Linked DNA regions of Homo sapiens: regions 1 and 3 are each linked to region 2. Evidence: promoter capture Hi-C in 16 types of primary human blood cells and fetal thymus (Javierre and others, 2016). All regions are on one chromosome and are shown on one strand. Each heading gives the region's core, a stretch centred on a gene start or on the middle of the fragment in contact. The rest is flanking DNA. Distances are from core to core; before and after follow the strand shown.

The links. The method cuts DNA at HindIII sites, captures the fragments that hold promoters and counts their contacts. A CHiCAGO score of 5 or more calls a contact.
Region 1: a contact is called between a fragment that was not itself captured here and the fragment with the promoter of LCMT1 in region 2, in 1 of 17 cell types (endothelial precursors). The highest score is 5.1, in endothelial precursors.
Region 3: a contact is called between a fragment that was not itself captured here and the fragment with the promoter of LCMT1 in region 2, in 1 of 17 cell types (naive CD4 T cells). The highest score is 5.6, in naive CD4 T cells.

Annotation. Positions count from the first base shown.
Region 1 is chr16:24,566,895-24,569,653 of GRCh38, reverse strand. RBBP6 (RB binding protein 6, ubiquitin ligase) reads right to left here. Exons shown (of 18, transcript NM_006910.5): 15 at 2,149-2,511; 16 at 1,761-1,862; 17 at 1-909. Among named protein-coding and RNA genes, the nearest start is that of RBBP6, 29 kb to the right of the region's middle. The HindIII fragment of the contact is 2,311 bases long and covers 263-2,573 here.
Region 2 is chr16:25,110,466-25,113,260 of GRCh38, reverse strand. LCMT1 (leucine carboxyl methyltransferase 1) reads right to left here and starts at 1,519. Exons shown (of 11, transcript NM_016309.3): 1 at 1,265-1,519. The coding sequence starts at 1,377. LCMT1-AS1 (LCMT1 antisense RNA 1) reads left to right here and starts at 1,706. Exons shown (of 3, transcript NR_120306.1): 1 at 1,706-1,865. RefSeq lists enhancers at 1,212-1,371, 1,462-1,791, 1,569-2,096. The HindIII fragment of the contact is 2,890 bases long and covers 702-2,795 here.
Region 3 is chr16:24,548,808-24,551,696 of GRCh38, reverse strand. It overlaps RBBP6 (RB binding protein 6, ubiquitin ligase), which reads right to left. Exons shown (of 18, transcript NM_006910.5): 3 at 2,716-2,752. Among named protein-coding and RNA genes, the nearest start is that of RBBP6, 11 kb to the right of the region's middle. The HindIII fragment of the contact is 522 bases long and covers 1,288-1,809 here.

The sequences.
Region 1 (2,759 bases), core at 169-2,668, 540 kb after region 2:
TCTCTAACAGGTGTGGCATCATCTCTACTTGGGAGAACAAACAATGAGTCTGTTTTATTTTCTTCAACACCTGTAGGTTCTCTTGATTTCCTAGAAGTCTCTAATAACTCTGGGTTCAGAAAACCCTCACTTTCCTCCCCTTTTCTTCTTTTTCTGTGTTTCTTATGCTTATTTCCTTTACCATCTCCTGGAGCGTTTTCACTCTCCTTCTCTTTTGACTTTGTATTATCCTTCTGATTGTGACCATCTCTTGCTGAAAGCTTTTCTGGATAGTTGCTACCTATGTTTCGACTTCTATGACTTTGCCCACCAACATAGTCTTCTCTGCGGCCTCTTGTGAAGGGAGAATTCCTGATGTTAAGTGGCAAAAATCTCTCTGGAGAAAAGTTCTCTCTATTTGCTGAGGGTCTAGGCTGTGCTCCAGCAGCATAACCTTTATAATATTTTTCATACCACTCTCTATATTTTCTCTCCCATTCTCGGTAGCGTTCTTTTTCAAATGGGTCTCTAAAGTCAACACTTCTCCCATAATATGCTTTCATGTCATATGGTGGTGGAACTTCTCTGTATCTATTAAAATATTCACGTTCTGTTTCCCCTTGAGGTACATTACGTTTATTAGGAGACTGTCCCCTAAACGCTTGAGGAGATCTTGATCGTGAATGATAGCGTCTGTAAGGGGGTGACCTTGACCTAGATCGATGATATCCATGAGATCTAGACCGTGAACGGTAATTGCGGCTCTTGCCTCTGCCTCTTCTGGGGTATGGAGGTGACCGTGAATAGGAACGAGAATGTGAGCGGCTGAATGATCGAGAATAAGAGCGTGAACGTGTTGAACCAGATCTTGATTTAGAATAAGTATATGAACTTCTTGAATACGAAGAACCACTATAGGGAGATTTAGACCTAAAAACAAAACAAAACAATAGTTGATAGTTGAGAAATACATACAAAATAAAACACAGACTCTCAGATTCTAGCATTCTTTCCTCACGGTTTCATCTATCTTTATATCAAATTTCATCTTAGATGATTAAAGAGGCACAGTGACCTCTACTGGAATGGAATAAAGTACACAAATCGGAGCAATCACTTGTTACAAAACAAAAGTGAAGTCTTAACAATTAGAGTGAAGTGCATTAATGTACCGTGAGTTATATGAGCTAACTAACATTAAACAAAATGTCAATTAATTTTAAATTTCACTTCCTATCTGAATATTGAAGTAGGAGTCTGTTTTTTGTCCTATACTGGCCAACAGCCTAGTTTTAAAAGAAACCACATTTCAAGTGTAAGGCTAAAAAATAAAGTCTTTTAAACAAACTTCCAGGGAATTTTTATAATTCACTTTTTCTATCAATAAAGCGATCTGTATTCTACTACTACTTCATAATTACGCAGGTTAATGTTCCAGCAAGAAGCTGTAGCCTTATGGTAAAAGGGTCCTGGGAACTGTTTTTTGGCTATTCCCCTATTTCTTTCCTTCCAAAAACATTTCCCAATTATTTGATACTATGAATAACTTTAAGGGACAAGGGCAATTTAATCCCCACAACTGTTAGTTCTACACAATAAAATTTACACTGAGACATTATTTCAATGAACAGATATTGGGAAATAAGCTACATCTTCACTTCTATACACCTAGACCGAATCAGAAAAATTCCTAAGTGCAATGTTCTTTATATCCATAGCTAATCCCTGGATATTCAAAGTCCCGTTTGTAATTCTGTTGTGAAGGCTTGCAAAACACTAACCTGGAAAATGAGCGCCTACGCTCCTTTTGAATCTTTTTGTATTCCATCAATTCCTTAGCAAAATCATTTGTAAACTCATCTAGCTTGGACTTTTTCTTTTCCCTAGTAAAATAAAGTTAAAGAGTGAAAGTTAACAAAAACCATTTAAGAAAACTAACAAGACAAATGTAATTAGATCATGAATGAAATGAATGAAATTGCCATTAGTTTTCCACTTTAAAACTATAAACTAGGAATCCCTGAGAAGTTGCTTGTATGGCTTTGGTTTAAATTTTAGGTGAATTTCTCATACTAACTGGAAACACTGGAAAACGTTTCCAGACACCTATTTAATGTTATTATCAGAAAATGAAAAAAGTGTATAATAATTTCAAATTAGAATACATACTCTTCTTTTAGTCGTCGCTGCTCTCTATAGAATTCTTCCCTGGACAAAGGTGGTGCTTGTGTTGTTGGGATGGTATTTGAATGAGCTGTCTGCACTCCTGATGATACCCAAGGTGTTGATAAATTGGCAGGAGCTGGAGGAAACCCTGGAGGAGGGACACTATACCCAGCGGGTGGTGGCTGGCCAGGAGGAAACTGAGGAGAAAACTGTGGAGGAGGAACACCCGGAGGGAGAGGAAGTGTATGGGGAGGAGGCGGATACAAAGGAGGTGGTGGAACAGGTACAAAGACTGGAGTTGCTGGTAGTGACGGGCCTTGAGTCCTCTGTGATCTTTCGCTGTGGTGTCGCCCACGGTTTATACTTCTGGAAAAATAAATTCCAAGATATTACTTCTTCAAACTAAAGTCATCTGAGACAAGTAAGCTTATCTCTTCTATCCATAATTATTTTCAAACTTAAAAACAGTGGAATAGAACCAACTATTCAACTAGTGTAGCAACATTAGTACAATTTATTTGTAAAAATAACTCTACAACATAATTTTTAAGGCCATGTCTCGACTGAGATGATGCAAGTTTATAGGACCTTCTCTACACGGAAATATTGTATTT
Region 2 (2,795 bases), core at 270-2,769:
TTCTCCCACCTTTAAAGCATTTTTTGAGTTCCTCTAACAGTTCACACTCCTCTGAACACTCTCCTACAACTTTCCTATTTTTCAAGCCTTTTCTTCTCACTTTTTTTTTTTTTTTTTTTTGAGACATAGTCTCGCACTCTCATCCAGGTTGGAGTGCAATAGCGTGATCTTGGCTCACTGCAACCTCTGCCTCCCGGGTTCAAATGATTCTCCGGCCTCAGCCTCCCGAGTAGCTGGGATTACAGGCGCCCGCCACCACACCCAGCTAATATTTGTATTTTTAGTAGAGATGGGGTTTCACCATGTTGGCCAGGATGGTCTCGAACTCCTGACCTCGTGATCTGCCCACCTCGGCCTCCCAAAGTGCTGGGATTACAGGCGTGAACCACCGCGCCCAAACTCTTCTCACCTTAAACATCACTGACAAAATTACAAACTCTAATGGCACTGCCGTATTTGTCAGCACTCAACACAAAAAAATCATAATTATATATTTCATAGGTAATTATTTGCTTCCTGTCTCTCTTTTCCAACAAAGCTGTGAGTTCCAGTATGTCTGACACCATGTCTGTCTTGTTCTTGGTGTATTTCCACCATCGAATTCCTACTAACCACTGCAAAGTAAAGGCCTGGCACAAAGTAAGGTCTCAAAAAATTTTGTTGAATGAAAGAATAAATGGTGGACATTCAAGCCTCAAGCTTTCTCTTTCTCTGACACGTACCTCTGCTGGCTACGCCCCCATCCCCACCACCACACCCTTAACAGTGGAGACTTAGTGCGGTACTGGCTCTGCAAAGAGATATTACTTGGCTCTGGGTGGGTTATTTCCCCTCGTCATCCTGAGTTTCAGGTGCACAACAGGGATCACACCAACCCCCTAAAGAATGCAACCTACAAAAGAGAGAGAACCTACACCTCTCATCCTCGTAACCCATCGAGGCTGGAGCTACTATTTGCTTCATGTCTGTCTTTCCAGCAGCGTTTAGCTCCAAGAAGCCCAAGGCCTCGTCTGTCTGGCTCAGGGGCCTGCTCCCATCGACGATACCCAGGCTGGCCCCCTGCCTGGCTCACAGCAAAAGCTCAGAAACGATTCGTTAAATAAATGAAGCCCTGCTCCGTGCACTTCACAGGTGGGAAGCGAGGGTCGTGCGAGGCGGGGGCTGCATCCCTGCCAGCCTTGAGCGTATTCTTCAGATGCAGGCCCACCTCCCACCTAGGCCCGCGCCCCAGATGCCGGCCCCGAACCCCGCGCCCGACAGGCACCTCTTGCACAGGGAAGCATCTTCGCAGGTGCCGCGCACGCCCTCGTCGTCTGCGTCGCAGCTCGAGGTGGAACAGCAGGAGGTGATAGAGGATTCCCTCTGCCTAGTGGCCATGGGCGTGGAGGTTCCTGGGAGCTGTGTCCGCCAGGGACATGGAAGCGGGGTCGACGGGCGGCGGGGGACGGCGCGAGCCACAGGGAGAAAGCAACAGAAGAGGGTAGGGCCCTACCTGGCTCAGCTGGCGCGGCTCAGTGACGCCGCCCACGCCGGCTACCCCAGCAACCTCTCCGCTTATTGGCTCCTCTTCCGAGTCGCTCATTGAGCAATTCTCCTGCCCGCTCAGCCTACGAAGTTGCTCATTGGATAATTATTTTGGCACCGCCCACATAACCCGGAAATTTGACGATAGGAAAAAGAAACTAAACAGTAGGAGAGTATCGCAATCCTTTCTGGGAAGCGTAGTCTTAGGTGTCTGGAGAAGTCGCCCGGTTTCTGCTTGCTGGTCGCGAAATTTTATAGCTATAATTAACTCAGGGCGGAACAGCTAGCAGAATCCTCAGCGTTCGGGCAAAGGGCAGAGAATCCAGCCAGAAGCAACATGTGTAAGTTGTTACATTCAGTCCGGGCTCAGTGTCATTCAATTTTACAAAATTTTGTTGTGTGCTGACTCTGCCAGCGACTGTGCTGAGGGCTTTGCCCCCAAAATTGCCTTCGAAATGTAGTGAGGGGGGCGGGCGTAGTGGCTCACTCCTGTAATCCCACCACTGTGGGAAGCCGAGGCGGGCCGATCACCTGAGGTCAGGAGTTCGAGACCAGCCTGGCCAACATGGTGAAACACCGTTGTTACTAAAAGTACAAAAATTAGCCGGGCGTGGTGGCGGCCGCCTTAGTCCTGGCTACTCAGGAGGCTGAGGCAGGAGAATCGCTTGAACCCGGGAGGCGGAGGTTGCAGTAAGCCCATGTGGCGCCACTGCATTCCGTCCTGAGCGACAGAGCGAGACTCCGTCTCAAAAAAATAAATAAACAAATAAATAAAAGAAAGAAAGAAAAGAAATGTAGTGAGGGAAGTAGTGTGTGGAAAAGTAATACAATAGGAAGCCATGTAGCAGCGATCATAAATGAACTAGAGCTACCAGGTAGCAGCATCAATGGCTGAATCTCAGAAACACGATGTTCAGTGAAAGAAGGAAGTCTAACAACACTTTTGTAAAGTTCAAACCAAGTAAAACTAATGTTGTTTAGAGAAACGTACATATATGGTAAAATACTGTACAGAGAAGGCAAGACATGAGAAAAAAAAATAAAAAAGAATCAGGATATTGGTGATCTTTAGGGAGCCGGGAGGGTAGCACACAAGAGGGGGAGGGAGAGGCAGGGAAGGAGCACATAGACACATCCTCAGTTTCTCACGTGGGAGTGGGTTCACGTGTGTCTGTTTCATTATGAGGCATATTCAAGATGTTTTGGATTTATTTTGTACTAAATCTAGTACAAAATATATGTATAAATTCAAGATGTACTGGGGAAGTCGC
Region 3 (2,889 bases), core at 299-2,798, 560 kb after region 2:
CTTAAGAATAAAAAAAAAATCTTCCCACTCCTAACACTTAAGATATAGTATCCTTTTTGTTTTTATGCTGGGCTTTTGTGTGCTTTTAAGCTTTCTGCTAACTTATTAGTATTATGTATTTATTGACTTTGAAGTGGTTTTAGATATGCAACTGCACCTAAATCACCTTTTTACCACCAAGTAATCACTATTGCCCCTAAATATCTTATAGTCCACAAAGAAGTCAAATTTACCTCAAATTTAGAAAAGCAAACAAATGTTTCCTACATATAGCAAGGTGTTCAGAAATGAGCAAAAAATGTTGACAAAGAATGGTTTAAAAATGATTAGGAATTTGTATTACTAAACATCAATAAAAATAGTGACTCTTGGTAAGATACTAATGGTAAAAAAAAGTCTGCCACTTAAAGTCCTCACAAAACGGACTGATGCAGACCGTAGACATTAAAATTAACCCACCTCCCTGTACCTAATTAGGGGTCTTGTTTTGGGAAGCAAGGATCTAAAATCTTTTATGCCAATTATATTAGCTTTTTGAAGTTAAAGAATCCTATAAAATACCACTCTGATATTTAGTTAGCAAGAAGAACATCCAGCTTTGGGGTATCAACATGGATGGATGACTAAAAACAAGACTGGGGAATATGGAAACAGCCATCCATTCTTGATTAGAGTTCGCTTCCATTACCAAAACTATACATTTACTTTACTAATCAGGATAAGAAAAATTTGGCTTAGCGCCTCTATTTACTTTGCTTTTGTGAATGTGTACAATCCACGTGACTCTAAATCTCCTAAGATGGGCACTAATTATGCTTGATGAATATATTCTCATCTTAAATGCCAGCAAATGTACCCCAAGCAAATAAATGATGGGGACAACAAGGTTATCTAATATCTCTATTTCAGATAATTCTACCTAAAAATTAAAGCCAATTTTAAAGTATTAAAAAAAAAAGAAAAGAAAAGAGAAACCTAAATAAGCTTAAATAAACTGCTTCTTATAAATGTAATACAGACATGCCGGAACACACAAGGCTAAAAGAATGTTAACTTTATTTATGAACATGTGATTTGTGTTTATACACATGCTAATAAACAAAAAGGAAATAACTGTTTTCAAGAAATAAAACTTCATCTGAATTAGTTTAAATACTATATAAACTGTACTTTATACAAAATGTGTTACATTAACTACTACAGTCACCAGGATAGTCAATCTAATTTATGCTAGCATTTGGATACATAAAAATCAGTTTTAAACCAATCACCAGCAAAACATAAGCTTGGACAGTTTTTACAGCATTATGCTTAAAAAAAAAAAACAAAAAAACAAAAAAAAACACCCCATATCCAAAAAGAGGAAAAAAAAACCCCAAACACTAAGACTTTTGATCTTAGAATCACTGTATTTAGTTCCACAAGAACTAAAGGCCATATACTCTAAAGAACAAGTCCAATGTTCAGATATTCTATATTATCATGTTTAAGATCCAATGATCCAAGGTTAGTGAAATGCCTCATATACAAAGAGCAATAGTATTTAAAAAGTATATAATGTGAAATAGCAAGCAATACCCTTGAATTCTAAATGAAGATTTTAGACATCTTGCATTGTGTACAATATCAAGCCTGGGCATTAAAATGTTTAGAGAACCATTACATTTACAGAACCCAATTATGATAGACCTGTGTTATGAAACAGATGCTTCACCCCACAACTTAGGAATGCTGCTACTTTTTACTTAAGAGCTCAAAGTTAAAATGGTATCACAAATTAAGTTAATCTGTGATTACAAAAATTAAGCTTAACTTTCTTCAAACCAGTTATCCTGGTTAAGGGGAGTTACCTCTGATAAGGTACAGCTTTCAATGGCCTAAAATTAACGCAGCATTTTAGTATAAGAGGGAAATATTTTAATTTGGACATCTGCACTAACTAGATAGAAGTGGAAGATCTCATTAAACTTTGAAAACAATATAATCAGTTTATATAAACTCAAAATCACTAAGACACTTATATATTCATAGGGGGCCCCAGGTTCAGGTTTCACTTTATAGTACAGATGTAAACAAAAGAAGGAGCTCAAAATGCCAAATAAAGCAAGACTAAATAATAAAGCTGCATCAATGGTCTCTGGAAAGCTCTTTTCTATGATGTGTTTGAACTTGGAGAAAGCATCAAACTTTAATATAAGCTTTGCATGTTGCTAATGCGTTTTTGGAAGCCATAAATCAGGCAGGAAAAAAAAAACTAACAAAAACTAAGTGATACAACGTGAAAATGGCAAAATATACACTCCAAACATTTTTTATTGCAAGAAACAAAAAGCACACAACAGCCTGTACATACATACAAAATACTAACTATAGACAGACAAATGTAGAACATGTCATCATGTTCCTTAGTGTAAAACCTAAACGATCTAAAAAGGATCATACATTAACTGTACAACACAGTGTCATACAGGGATAATGCTATCATATTTAATATGAAACAGTGTTACGGGCACAAATTACCCATTTCTACAAAATAAGTGTGCAAGTGATGCCACATATTATCCATATTCAACTGAGCTGTCATCAAAATACATTTTATTTACAATATGTACTATGATCAGTTGGATATTAAGTTCTAAAATGATTTACTTCACTGCTACATTATAAAGGTAAAAGCAATGTGTAGAAAAAGTGTGAGATTGTGTTTTTACATACTGCTTTTGTAGTTGCCATCGCTGGTTCAGTTCGACTTCTAAAACACAAAATAAAAACAAAAATTAACATTAGCTATTTATGAATTTTTGTGCTAATAAATTTTAACACATTATCTTCAATAATACATTTTTAGGAACCTAATTTTCCTTTGGTATAAATATTTAACAGCCAATT